Regions from separate parts of the Homo sapiens genome. Here region 1 is linked to region 2. The links are contacts of gene promoters, found by promoter capture Hi-C in human tissues and cell types (Jung and others, 2019). All regions are on one chromosome and are shown on one strand. The core of a region is centred on a gene start or on the middle of the fragment in contact, and the rest is flanking DNA. Distances in the headings are between cores, read along the strand shown. Region 1 overlaps EIF2B3 (eukaryotic translation initiation factor 2B subunit gamma). Region 2 holds the start of KIF2C (kinesin family member 2C).

Region 1 (6,729 bases), core at 3,957-6,456, 210 kb after region 2:
AAAAATTAGCCGGGCATGGTGGCACATGCCTATAGTCCCAGCTACTCGGGAGGCTGAGGCAGGAGAATTGCTTGAACCCAGGAGGTGGAAATTGCAGTGGGCCGAGATAGCACCACTGCACTCCAGCTTGGGTGACAGAGCAAGACTCTATCTCCAAAGAAAGAAAAAAAAGAAACATAGTTTAGGGCCAGGCACAGTAGCACATGCCTGTAATCCCAGAGGTGCCTCAGGGAAAGGCAGGTTCTGATTTGCCCTTCGTGAATCAACCAAGGCAGCTCCTCTTTTATTAATTTTATTTTCCAGGCTTCTGGATAAGCTTTGTCTTGGAAAACCAATTATGCTACTTTAAAAAAGTCTAGGCTGGGCAGAGTGGCTCACACCTGTAATCCCAGTGCTTTGGGATGCCAAGGCAGGAGGACTGCATGAGCCCAGGAGTTCAAGGTTAGAGTGAGCTATGATCACATCACTGCACTTCTGCCTGGGTGACAGTGCAAGATGCTGTCTCAAAAAAAAAAAAAAAAGGCCTGGCACAGTGTCTTGCACCTGTAAGCCAAGCTACTCTGGAGGCTGAGGCAGGAGCATCACTTGAGGCCAGGAGTTTGAGGCCAGCCTGAACAACACAGTAAGACCCCATCTCTAAAAATACATAAAACATTTTTTAAATTAGCAAATAAAATTTTTTAAAAGTTAGCCAGGTGTGGTGGCATGCACTTATAGTCCCAGCTACTTGGGAGGCTGAGGCAAGAGGATTGCTTAAACCTCAGAGGAGTTCAAGACTCTAGTGAGCTACAATTACTCCACTGGATTCCAGCCTGGGTGACAGAGTGAGGCCTTGTCTCAAATAAATAAATAGTCTGGAAAACATTGGACCAAATTATTTTGGGTTCAAGAATGAAGTGAGTCTACATGTATTTTTTTTTTTGTAAGTACTCCAAACTTTCCTAATATTTTAATTTAAAATCATGATTCCTGGTTTGGGTGGGAAAATGGATGATTTCAACTCATAGTCTACCAAATCAAAGAGTCTTGTTTGCTCAGAAAGTGAGACTCAACCATCAGAATGCCTTATGTTACTGCCTGAAATTTCTTATTCTGAATATAGAATCTGCAACAGAATCACCATTTCTTTTTCCACATGTAACTTGTTATTTATAGCCTGAACAATTTCTTTTGAAGGCCTTTTAAAGTTAAGCTCAAATTCGGATTGTTTCCTACTCTTCTGCTTAAGGCTCTCTAAATTCTTTTTAGATTTTAACTCTGAGACTAAAAAAAAAAAAAGTTCCCACTGGGCGCGGTGGCTCACACCTGTAATCCCAGCACTTTGGGAGGCCGAGGCGGGTGGATCACAACGTCAGGAGATCGAGACCATCCTGGCTACCATGGTGAAACCTCGTCTCTACTAAAAGTACAAAAAATCAGCAGGGCGTGGTGGCAGGCGCCTGTAGTCCCAGCTACTCGGGAGGCTGAGGCAGGAGAATGGCATGAACCCAGGGGGCGGAGCTTGCCGTGAGCCGAGATCGCGCCACTGCACTCCAGCCTGGGTAACAGCGCAAGACTCCGTCTCAAAAAAAAAAAAAAAGTTCCCATAAACATCTCTTTAGGAAAAAAAAAAACCCTACACCTGCAACTCACCATGCAGGAAGCAGCAAACGTGAACAAATCAGACCACATACATACAAACTAAAGAAACAGCCTGCAGAATCCTACTTAGAACAATGCTTAGAAAGACAAGGAGACAAATCATTACTAAAGACATTCACAGAGTTGTCATTACAACAGTACAGAAGTTGCCCCATTTCATCAGAATGAAAATGACAATTTGCTGAGGAAAAAAATCCCCTTTCTATTTTTCTAAGTTTCTCTAATAAGATGGCTGTTTTTTTGCAAGTTTACTGATCTACAATAAATTGAACTATTAAGTATACTCCAAAATCAAGAAAATGACTCCAATGCAGATGCCTCAGAAGTGGTAACAATGTTGTCTTGGCAAATAAATGCTGTTATCATTCGATATCTGCAAAAGTGTTTAAATCTGTCAGTACAGTGAATGCCAAACAAGTCCTGCATAATTGTGAACAGGCTGTAGGCTCATTTCTCTCTTTGCGTTTTGATGACTTTTTGCTAAACTGAATGCAAAATCCCCAAGGATCACAAGGAACAGACCCCTCCACTCAATGTCTGGTTGCCATCTGTTCTTAGTGTGAAAAGAAAGGCGTGGGTCTGAAAGAACAGGGCCTAGCATACAGACGGAGGTGCTGTTCCATCAGCCCCTCTCCTGCCTCTGTTCCCAGAGAATGCACCATGTAAGAGTCACTGAGACCAAACACATCTCATCCTCTGTGCAACTCCATCACTTCCAAAGGAAAGTGTTTGTTGTCTGATCAATTTCCAAAGCTGGAAATCTCAGAAGAAGAAAGAAAGGAAAGCTAAATCACACTTATACCTTCATAATACCTTTTTTTTTTTGAGACAGGGTCTCAGTCTGTTGCCCAGGCTGGAGTGCAGAGGTGTGATCATAGCTCACTGTAACCTCAAATTCTTGGACTCAAGCATCCTACCACCTCGGCTTCCTAAGTAGCTGGGACTACAGGCACCACATGCCACTATGTCCACTAATTTTAATTTCTTCTTCTTCTTCTTTTTTTTTTTTTTTTGTAGAGACGGGATCTCACTATGTTGCCAGGGCTGGTCTCAAACTCTTAGGCTCAAGTGATCTTCCTGTCTCAGCCTCCCAAAGTGCTGGAATTACAGGCATAAGCCACTGAGCCTGGCCTGATTTTATAAACGCTGTAACAGAAAGAAATGATCATTGTTTTTATTTTTATTCTAAAATGTAAAGCCCATTCTAGGAATGCAAATGGCTTTCTAGTAACTGGAGCCCAGAGAGAGAAAGTAGAAAAACTGATAAGACCCAGAGAAGTATTTTTGATCATGTGTGACCACAAGCCATGAATAAACATGGACTGTTTGGACTGTGAAGCAACTGTGTGTCAGAAATGCAGTTAATTTTAAAGTTCCCTGAACATGCCAACACTCAGCTGCCTTTGTTTCATGGACCCACTTCTTTTCTAATGCCAACAGTATGCCTCTTCTGCAGAGACCAACTGGCCTCTCCAAAGATCTCCCTACTCACTATTCCAACAGTCATTGGTATGCCTCATCCCAAGCCTGCTCCTCTAGAGAAGCCAGGGCAATGTCAAGGGCAGAAAGCACAACTCAGAAGGAAAGCAGATGTGTGCACTCTTGACAATATAGAAACATGCAAGGTTTCAAGGGAAGGCAGCACTTTAGTGTTTAAAGTGTCCAAAACACCCAGGAATTCAAAATCCAAACTGCTGCCAGTTAGTCTTGACTAAAGTAAACAAATTAAGCTCAGAAAACCCAATTACCAAGCCATGGCAAAGCCCAGAAATCTCTCATTACAAGAACATTTTCGATCAAGCCAAAACCACTGAGTAAAATTAGAGGGGAAAAAAGGTTAAATCAGAAAACCGGATGTGTGTGTGTGTGGCTGTAGTGGTGGGGCGGGAGGTGAGGAGAGCTACTGGGAATAGCCTCTTTTCTTTTCCTGGCAGCTGTTCCATGACAGATTGTTATAAATAACACAATCTGGCAACCGATTTCTTATGACAAGGAGAAAGAAAAACACATTTACTCCCTTGGAAAAAAACTGTCAGGGCAAGGTAACTACCATGCTTCTCTACTCACCCAGTGCTTCCACAAATAATGGCTATGATCCAAATCACCAGCCTGCATGCCACCCCTGCCCATATGGAACTCATGAATTCAGCTACTTGGTGTGACTATGAAGGTCACATTTTACATTTTCCTATGTGGTCCAATCCCAGTCAAATCCCCAAGAGTAGTTTGTGTGCTTTTTCTTTTCTTTTCTTTTTTTTTAGACAAGGGGTCTCCCTATATTGCCCAGGCTGGTCTCAAACTCCTGGACTCAAGCAATCCTCCTGCCTCAGCCTCCCAAAATGCTGGGATTACATGCATGAGCCACTGCACCTGGCATAGTTTGTGTGCTTGAATAAACACCAAAGGCTAACTGCAATGGAGACCTCAGTTTTGGTTTAAAATGCTTGGAAAAGATTCCAGTCTATAGTCCTCAAAGTGCAAGGCCAAGGGCCAACTGCCACATTGTTTTCACTGAGGTTGGGGCAGTAGCTCTAGGAAGGGAAATGACCAACTCAGTCAGTAAGTAAGAAATGTGATAATCCTTGGGCTCACAGCTAAATATCCTTACTATATTCCTTAGTTTAATCATGCTGTTGCTACCATCCAGAATCTGATGCCAGAAATCCGCCCATAGTCCAGGATGGAAGTCCTTCCTCTCCTGCCCTGTCCCCTACTCTTCCCCTATTGCACTGCCTTAGTTCAGGTCTCAAAATCTTCTTCCAGTCTCTTGGCTGGTGTCTCTCTTGCTCCAGTTTTCCCTTATTCTAATCCATACTCTAATTTCTACTGCATATGTCTTTTCCCTGCTCAAAGACACCCTAAAACAGTGTTTTCCAAACATCAAAAAAGTTGAACTTATTGCCACTTACCTTAAAATTTTTAAAAAAATATATAGATCACTATAATATGATATGCTCTTTATATAATATATATAAAGATAGACATTTAAAAAGGAATAAATAAAACATTTAAAAACAAGAAATTCTAACATTTTCCTCTGGTACTTAATTCTGTACACCACCTGGCTTTGAGTACAGCCTATTTTGGAGATTGCTGCTCAACAAGATTAAGTTGGAATTCCTTAGCATGATTTTAAGGGTCTTCAAAATATGACTCCACCTACCTAATTCAGTCTTCTCTCCCCCAACTCCCCTCCACATAGCCAATGTTAACTTTTTCTTTTCTTTTCTTTTCTTTTTTTTTGAGAAAGAGTCTCGCTCTATTGCCCAGGCTATTGCCCAGGCTGGAGTAAAATGGCACGATCACGGCTCACTGCAACCTCCGCCCCCCGAGGTTCAAGCAATTCTTGTGCCTCAGCCTCCCAAGTAGCTGGGATTACAGGTACATGCCACCATGCCCAGCTAATTTTTACATTTTTAGTACAGACAGTGTTTCGCCATGTTGGCCAGGCTAGTTCTCAAACTCCTGACCTCAAGTGATCCTCCTGCCTTGGCTTCCTCAGGTGCTGGGATTACAGGCATGAGCCACTGCACCTGGCCGCCAGTGTTAATTTGATAGAGTCGACTGCCAAGAATGTATACCCTAGTCTGTCTTCCTACTCTATTATATATTTATCCATCAAAATTCAGGTCTTGTCACAGTTACTAGAAAGGGCAGAGCCGATATATTATCTCCCCTAGAGATGATGCATTTTCTGATCCATTACAGACCTTAAATCACTAATTGGATTACATATATATTTTTTCCATCTAGACTTTGAGCTCCATAAGGAGCCCTTTTATCTTTGTATATTCAGAGTTCAACCTAGTGCTGGCAAACACGCATGAGTAAATGTTAGTACTTTTCCTGTTATCTCCTTCTCTTTGTTTAATTTGACTCAAATATTAAAACATCTGATTTTAAATGTTTAGAAACAGTATACATTCTGACAGAGGTGAATGCTCCCTTTGTAGAGACTGACTGTTCAGAGTTAGGACAGGGGCCACAGAGACAACTTTGCAGTTCCCTAATGCAAGAAGGTAGGAAATGAACCTGCTACTACCAAAGAAGCAAAAGGCAGAGATGTCTGAAAGGAAAGAAGTCAAAAGCAGCTGTCCTGGAGGGCACGGCTGAAGAATGATGATATGCTTGCTAGATTTACAACTTAAAATGAAGGCTCAACATTTATGGTTCTAATATTCATAATTCATTCACGTCCTCCAAGGAAATTTTCCTCTTCAGATTAAGAACAAATAGAGGAATTATATTCTTCCTTACTGTGTGAAGCTAGGAAAGAAGCACCTATATTAATTTTTAATTATGTTCAAATGAGTTCCCTATAAAAATGCCTGTCACGTCTCTTCTAGGATTTAGATATATGCAATTTAATTTTCATCTCTAAATGCACTGACTTGGAATAGAAAAAAACAAGAGATTTTTTTTGTTCTCCCAAATCAAACTTTCACTCTAAAGGGAAGTTCATAACAATGAGAAAAAATACAACTAATAAATCTTTTTAAAACTTAGGGTTGGCTGAGCACAATGGCTCATGCCTGTAACCCCAGCATTTTGGGAGGCCAAGGTGGGAGAACTGTTTGAGGCCAGGAGTTTGAAACCAGCCTGGGCAACATAGCGAGACCTTATCTCTACAAAAAATTTTAAAAATTAGCCAGGCATGGTGGTGCATGCCTGTAGTCCCAGCTACTTGAGAGGTTGAGGCAGGAGGATCATTTGAGCCCAGGTTTCAGGCTGCAGTAAGCTATGATTGTGCCATTGCACTCCAGCACCCGTGACAGAGTGAGATCGTGTTTCTAAAAAACAAACAAACAAAACAGAAAATTCAAGAAGTAACAATTTTAGCATGTTATTTAGAGACATACAGATAAAAAACAAAGTAGCTAAAAGAAGAGAACCTTTCGGGTTAGGGATATGGGGTGGGGGTGGTCAGGGGACTAATATTTTTAGGAACAAAGCTTGAACTATTGAATTATTTAAATTATTAAATTATTAATTTATTAAATGATATTGAATTATTTAAATGATATATACATATAACTTCAATAAGTATAAGGTGTTTATTTATTTATTTATTTTTTGAGACAAGAGTCT
Region 2 (6,620 bases), core at 1,250-3,749:
GGCTGGGCGCAGTGGCTCACACCTGTAATCCCAGCACTTTAGGAGGCCGAGGTGGGCGGATCACCTGAGGTCGGGAGTTCACGACCAGCCTGACCAACATGGTGAAACCCCGTCTCTACTAAAAATACAAAATTAGCCGGGCATGATGGTGCATCTCTGTAATCCCAGTTACTTTGGAGGCTGAGGCAGGAGAATTGCTTGAACCTGGGAGGCAGAGGTTGTGGTGAGCCGAGATCGCACCATTGCACTCCAGCCTGGGCAACAAGAGTGAAATTCTGTCTCAAAAAAAAAAAAAAAAAAAAGTAAAATGTAAATCAGATCATGTTAGTCCCCTGCTTAAAACTTTTCAATGACTTCTCATTAGCATAAAAGCCAAAATTATTACTACAGGCCACAAGATGCTCTATGATTTTGCCCCTCCCCACCTCTTCAACTTCTTCTGATGCTCCTCTCCCCCACTGCCTTCCAGTCATCAGTTCTTCAAACAAGACCTTTCCTGGCCAGGCACAGTGGTTCATGCCTGTAATACCAGCATTTTGGGAGGCTGAGGCAGGCAGATCGTCAAGAACAGGAGGCCGGGCTTGGTGGTTCACACATGTAATCCTAGCACTTTGGGAGGTTAAGGAGGGAGGATCTTTGAGCCCAGGAGTTCAAGACCAGCCTGGGCAACATAGCAAGACACTGTCTCTAATTAAAAAAAAAAAAAACCTCTCCCTTTCCCCCTCCCCCTCTCCCCGGTCTCCCTCTGATGCCAAGCCGAGGCTGAACTGTACTGCCGCCATCTCGACTCACTGCAGCCTCCCTGCCTGATTCTCCTGCCTCAGCCTGCCGAGTGCCTGGGATTGCAGGCGCGCGCCGCCGCACCTGACTGGTTTTCGTATTTTTTGGTGGAGATGGGGTTTCACCGTGCTGGCCGGGCTGGTCTCCAGCTCCTGACCGCGAGTGATCTGCCAGCCCTGGCCTCCCGAGGTGCCGGGATTGCAGACGGAGTCTCGCTCACTCAGTGCTCAATGTTGCCCAGGCTGGAGTGCGGTGGCGTGATCTCGGCTCGCTACAACCTCCACCTCCCAGCCGCCTGCCTTGGCCTCCCAAAGTGCCGAGATTGCAGCCTCTGCTCGGCCGCCACCCGGTCTAGGAAGTGAGGAGCGTCTCTTCCCGGCCGCCCATCGTCTGGGATGTGGGGAGCGCCTCTGCCCCGCCGCGACCCCGTCTGGGAACTGAGGAGTGTCTCTGCCCCGCCGCCACCCTGTCTGGGAGGTGAGGATCGTCTCTGACTGGCCGCCCCGTCTGAGAAGTGAGGAGCCACTCTGCCCGGCAGCCGCCCCGTCCGGGAGATGAGGAGCGTCTCCTCCCGGCAGCCGCCCCGTCCAGGAGGTGGGGGGAAAGCCCCCGACCGGCCAGCCGCCCCGTCTGGGAGGTGGGGGGCAGCCCCCTCCCAGCCGCCGCCCTGTCTGGGAGGTGGGGGGGGGGGGCGCCTCTGCCCGGCTGCCCCATTTGGGAAGTGAGGAGCCCCTCTGCCCCGCCGCCACCCCATCTGGGAGGTGTACCCAATAGCTCATTGAGAACGGGCCATGATGACGATGGCGGTTTTGTCGAATAGAAAAGGGGGAAATGTGGGGAAAAGAAAGAGAGATCAGATTGTTACTGTGTCTGTGTAGAAAGAAGTAGACATAGGAGACTCCATTTTGTTCTGTACTAAGAAAAATTCTTTTGCCTTGGGATGCTGTTAATCTATAACCTTACCCCCAACCCCGTGCTCTCTGAAACATGTGCTGTGTCCACTAAGGGTTAAATGGAAAAAAAAAAAAAGGAGGACAGGAACTATGTGTCTAGTTCATTATCTCCATTTCCTGGTACCATGCCTAGCAGGTGGTAGACTTCACTCAATAAATATCTGGTGAATCAGTGTCTTTCTGGAAATTTATACATAACTCCTTGAATGAGGCAACATGCTTCTGCACTATTTAATAAGAAAAACTAAGTCAAGTTTCTAATCTGTGGTTTTGTTTTGCTTTGAGAACAGGGTCTTGGCTATGTTGCCCTGTCTGGTCTCGAACTTCTGATCTCGAGCGATCACTCCCACCTCTCCCTTCCTAAGTGTTGGGATTAACAGGAGTGAGCCACCGCGCCCGGCCAAGTCTCCAACTTGCTCGAGGTCACTGAACTTGCAATTGAAGAAGCTACGATTCGAACCCATGTCTGTAGGATCCCAGAGCCCTCATTGTCAAATACATACTGAAGTTTCCCAGTTTTCGGGAACCCCGCAGTACAAGGTGACCGAGGACAATACCAGAAATGGGAGCCCCAGACCCCACGTAGCGGCGAAGTTCCCAGAAGGCACAGCGCTCGGGGGTGTGGCCAGACGCATGGGCGGTGCCAAGCGTAGGAAGATGGTTGGGAACTGCGTCTCCCCCAAGGCTCCGCAGGGCGCCGCTGACTGGCGGAAGCGAGGGCGGGGACAGCGGAATGACGTTTTAAGGACGCTTGCGCGCGGGATTTAAACTGCGGCGGTTTACGCGGCGTTAAGACTTCGTAGGGTTAGCGAAATTGAGGTTTCTTGGTATTGCGCGTTTCTCTTCCTTGCTGACTCTCCGAATGGCCATGGACTCGTCGCTTCAGGCCCGCCTGTTTCCCGGTCTCGCTATCAAGATCCAACGCAGTAATGGTGAGGAGCGGGGTCCCTAGGTCAAGGGGACTCGTGAGCGGTGAGACGACTGAAATTACTGCCCGTCCCCGGACACACAGATGGGCTTTCACTCTCTTTCTCTCCCTCCCTCCTTTTCACACGCACTCACTCCGGGTCTCTGCACTGGCAGTCATTCTTGCCTACACAGGGGTGAGAGTCCCTGCGCTGTACGTGGTCCCTTTCGCAGTCCTCTGGGAGTGGGCGGACCTTCTCCAAGGCTGGTAGACCTCCCAGGGAAGTTGGGACTTCTAAATTCACTTCCCTTCCAAAATTCTCCCCTGAAAATGCCCTGCTCTTATGGGGACCTCGGTCTCCTGGCCCCTTTACTCTCGAATAAATATTGCGCAGTTGCGGTATGTCAGGTAAACGGGACAGACAAGAACCCTGCGCTTGAGGAGCTTGTAGTCGTTCTCTCTTTTGCTTAAGCAGGTACCGCAGTTCTGGCAGGTCTGATACCCGTGTCATTAGGGAAATGGACAGATATGACCGCCAGAAATGAGTTAGGAAAACCCCAAAAGGGCCAGATCCTCAATGCTATGTTGAGGAAAAGTTCATCTAAGGGTTGTGGGGAATCCTGTGCTCAAACATACCTTTTGTATGTTCTCTTTTGTAGGCTCTATCTCTCTTTTTTTGTAGGCTCTCTTGAGTAGGGGTGAATCCTTATCCCATGCAGCTCAGTTTAAAAACCTGTCCCCAGCCCACCTCACTGTGGATATTCTAAAGGTGAAGCCCAGGAGATTTATTTGTTTCTCTTAGTTTTTTTTTTTTTTTTTTTTAAGGTAGCTGCCTGTTCCTTCAGGTTAACTCCACTTTGGGAATCTCTGTGGAATCCTAAAAGTGAAGCTCTCAGGAAAGAGATGGGTAACTCTGGTTTTTTCATACTTTATAGGTTTAATTCACAGTGCCAATGTAAGGACTGTGAACTTGGAGAAATCCTGTGTTTCAGTGGAATGGGCAGAAGGAGGTGCCACAAAGGGCAAAGAGGTAGGTTCTATGAGAATTCCTCTACCACATTTAATGTCTTCCTACATAAAGGATCTGTGCAGAAGTGGAATCTGTGAGAGCCTAGTTTCTGATGCTGTGCTCTTCTCACTCACGCCTGTAATCCCAGAACTTTGGGAGGCTGAGACGGGCAGATCACCTGATGTCAGGAGTTCGAGACCATCCTGGCCAACATGGCGAAACCTGTCTCTACTGAAAATACAAAAATTAGCCAGTCGTGGTAGTGCATGCCTGTAATCCCAACTACTTGGGAGCCTGAGGCAGGAGAACTGCTTGAACCTGGGAGGCGGAGGTTGCAGTGAGCCGAAACTGTGCCGCTGCACTCCAGCCTGGGTGACAGTGAGAATCTGTCTCAAAAAAAAAAAAAAAAAAAAATTGGCTGGGTGCGGTGGCTCTTGCCTCTAATCCCGACACTTTGAGAGGCCTGGTCTGGAGGATTGCTTGAGCTCAGGAGTTCGAGACCAGCCTGGGAAAAATGTTGAGACCTTGTCTCTACAAAAAAATTAAAAATTATCAGGGTGTGGTGGCTCACGCCTGTGGTTCCAGCTACTCGGGAAGCTGAGGTGGGAGGATTGATTTAGCCTGGGAGGTTGAGGCTGCACTGAACCATGATCGAGCCACTGCACTCTGGCCTGGGCGACAGAGTGAGACCTTTCCTCAAAAAATAAAAATGGTCTTCTTGGCTGGGCACAGTGGCTCACATGTATAATCCCAGCACTTTGGGAGGCCGAGGTGGGCAGATCGCTTTGAGCTCAGCAGTTCAAGACCAGGCTGGGCAACATGACAAAACCTCATTTCTACAAAAAATACAAAAAACATTAGCCGGGCATGGTGGTGCATGCCTGTGGTCCCAGCTGCTCTGGAGGCTGAGGCTGGAGAATTGCTGGAGTCTGGGAAAGCACAGGTTTCAGTGAGCTGAAATTGCACCACTGCTCTCCAGCCTCCTGGGCAACAGAATGAGGACTTGTCTCAAAAAAAAAAAAAAAAAAAAAAAGAATGGTCCCCTTCCAGATGCATTGGGATTTTATTTAGTCAGGTCCATTCTAAATTGAAGCAATCAATAATTTTCTGGGTTTTTTTTGTTTGTTTGTTTGTTTGTTTTGAGACAGAGTCTCACTCTGTCACCCAGGCTGGAGTGCAGTGGCGAGATCTCAGCTCACTGCAAGCTCCGCCTCCCGGGTTCACGTCATTCTCCTGCCTCAGCCTCCCGAGTAACTGGTACTACAGGTGCCCGCCACTACGCCCGGCTAATTTTTTGTATTTTTAGTAGAGATGGGGTTTCACTGTGTTAGCCGGGATGGTCTCGATCTCCTGACCTCGTGATCCGCCTGCCTCTGCCTCCCAAAGTGCTGGGATTACAGGCGTGAGCCACCATGCCCGGCTCTGGTATGTTTGTAGAAAGCAAACTGCAGCCAGGCGCAGTGGCTCATGCCTGTAATCCCAGCACTTTGGGAGGCCGAGGTGGGCGGATCACTTGAGATCAGGAGTTTGAGACCAGCCTGGCCAACATAGCGAAACCCCCATCTCTACTAAAAATACAAAAATTAGCTGGGTGTGGTGGCACGGGCCTGTAATCCCAGCTACTTGGGAAGCTGGGGCAGGAGGATCACATGAACCTGGGAGGCAGAGGTTGCAGTGAGCTGAGATCATGCCACTGCACTCCAGCCTGGGCAACAGAGTGAAACTTCGTCTCAAAAAAAAAAAAAAAAAAACAAACTGCACAGAATTTTAGGTTTTAGAAAACTTTGCTTGCCCAAGCTAGGTTCTGCATGCACACTACCTGTGATATCAGTTTGGTGAATGAAATCAATAACCTGGTTGAGGAGACAAAAAGACGTTTCTGAATCACCAACTAACCAACTAACAGAAGACAACTTGTGATGAATGGCACAGATGAGCATTGCTAGAGCAGCTCAGAGGTGGAAACTTGCTGAGAATGGGCTGGGCTTAGAGGGTGGAGTGTGAAGGCTTAGCTGAAGCAGCAAGATGGCACACATGGGGACCATGAAGAAGCTGGCCACGAGCAGTGCAGGGCCCAGGATGCTTGGCAGCCGCAAAACAGCTGAAAAAGGAGACAAAGGTCTTCATGTCTGGCACTGAGCTGGTTAGGTTTTCTTCTGTAGGCAGTGGGGAACCTTGGAAGGATTTTGAGGAGAGCACTGTGACTAAGACATTTCTGTTCTAGTGGCATTGTGGTGTAGTGAAAAGGTCACTGGGCTAGGAGTATGAAAACCTGGATTCTAGTCTGGCTCTGCCACTGCTTTGTGTTCTCAGGCATGTTTCTGCCCCTCTTCGAAGTTTAGTTTCCTCATCTATAAAGTGAGGATGATAATAATGTCTACCTCACAGGGTTGTTGTGAGGATTTACTCAGCACATTTTTTGGACTGCTTCCAAAATGCTAGACACTTATTGGGTGCTAGGGATACAGAGGTGAAGGAGACAGACTCTTGGACTCTCTTCCATGGAGCTTAATAAAATAATACATGTAGCTGGGCACAGTACCTGTAATCTCAGCACTTTGGGAGGCTGAGGCAGGAGGACCTCTTGAGGCCAGGAGTTTGAGTCCATCCTGGGCAAATACAGCAAGACCTCATCTCTACTAAAAATAAAAAACAATTAGCCAGTCATAGTGGCTTGCGCCTGTGGTCCCAGCTACTCCAGAGGCTAAGGCAGGAGGATTGCTTGAGCCCAGGAGTTCAGGGCTACAGTGAGCCACTACACTCCAGCCTGGGTGACAGAGTGAGACCCTGTCTCAAAAACAAATAAATAAAAAAGATAAAACATGTAAAAAGCTTGCTTAGCATAGTACGTATAGTAGAGATATTTAGGTGGTATATTTGAGAAATAAAAGGATTGAATACTTTCCATTATCTGCCCCTAAAGAATTAAGAGGTTCCTAAAATTCCTTTCAACCAGCTATTATCAGTCTTT

The links. The method cuts DNA at HindIII sites, captures the fragments that hold promoters and counts their contacts. A contact is called where the count stands out against the background at its distance.
Region 1: a fragment that was not itself captured here is called in contact with the fragment with the promoter of KIF2C in region 2 in 1 of the 25 tissues and cell types used here (aorta).

Annotation. Positions count from the first base shown.
Region 1 is chr1:44,943,990-44,950,718 of GRCh38, forward strand. The region is part of intron 3 of EIF2B3 (eukaryotic translation initiation factor 2B subunit gamma); the gene reads right to left. Among named protein-coding and RNA genes, the nearest start is that of EIF2B3, 39 kb to the right of the region's middle. The HindIII fragment of the contact is 3,505 bases long and covers 3,455-6,729 here.
Region 2 is chr1:44,737,338-44,743,957 of GRCh38, forward strand. It overlaps KIF2C (kinesin family member 2C), which reads left to right and starts at 2,500. Exons shown (of 21, transcript NM_006845.4): 1 at 2,500-2,665; 2 at 3,576-3,670. The coding sequence starts at 2,596. RefSeq lists an enhancer at 2,151-2,320. The HindIII fragment of the contact is 13,379 bases long and covers 1-6,620 here.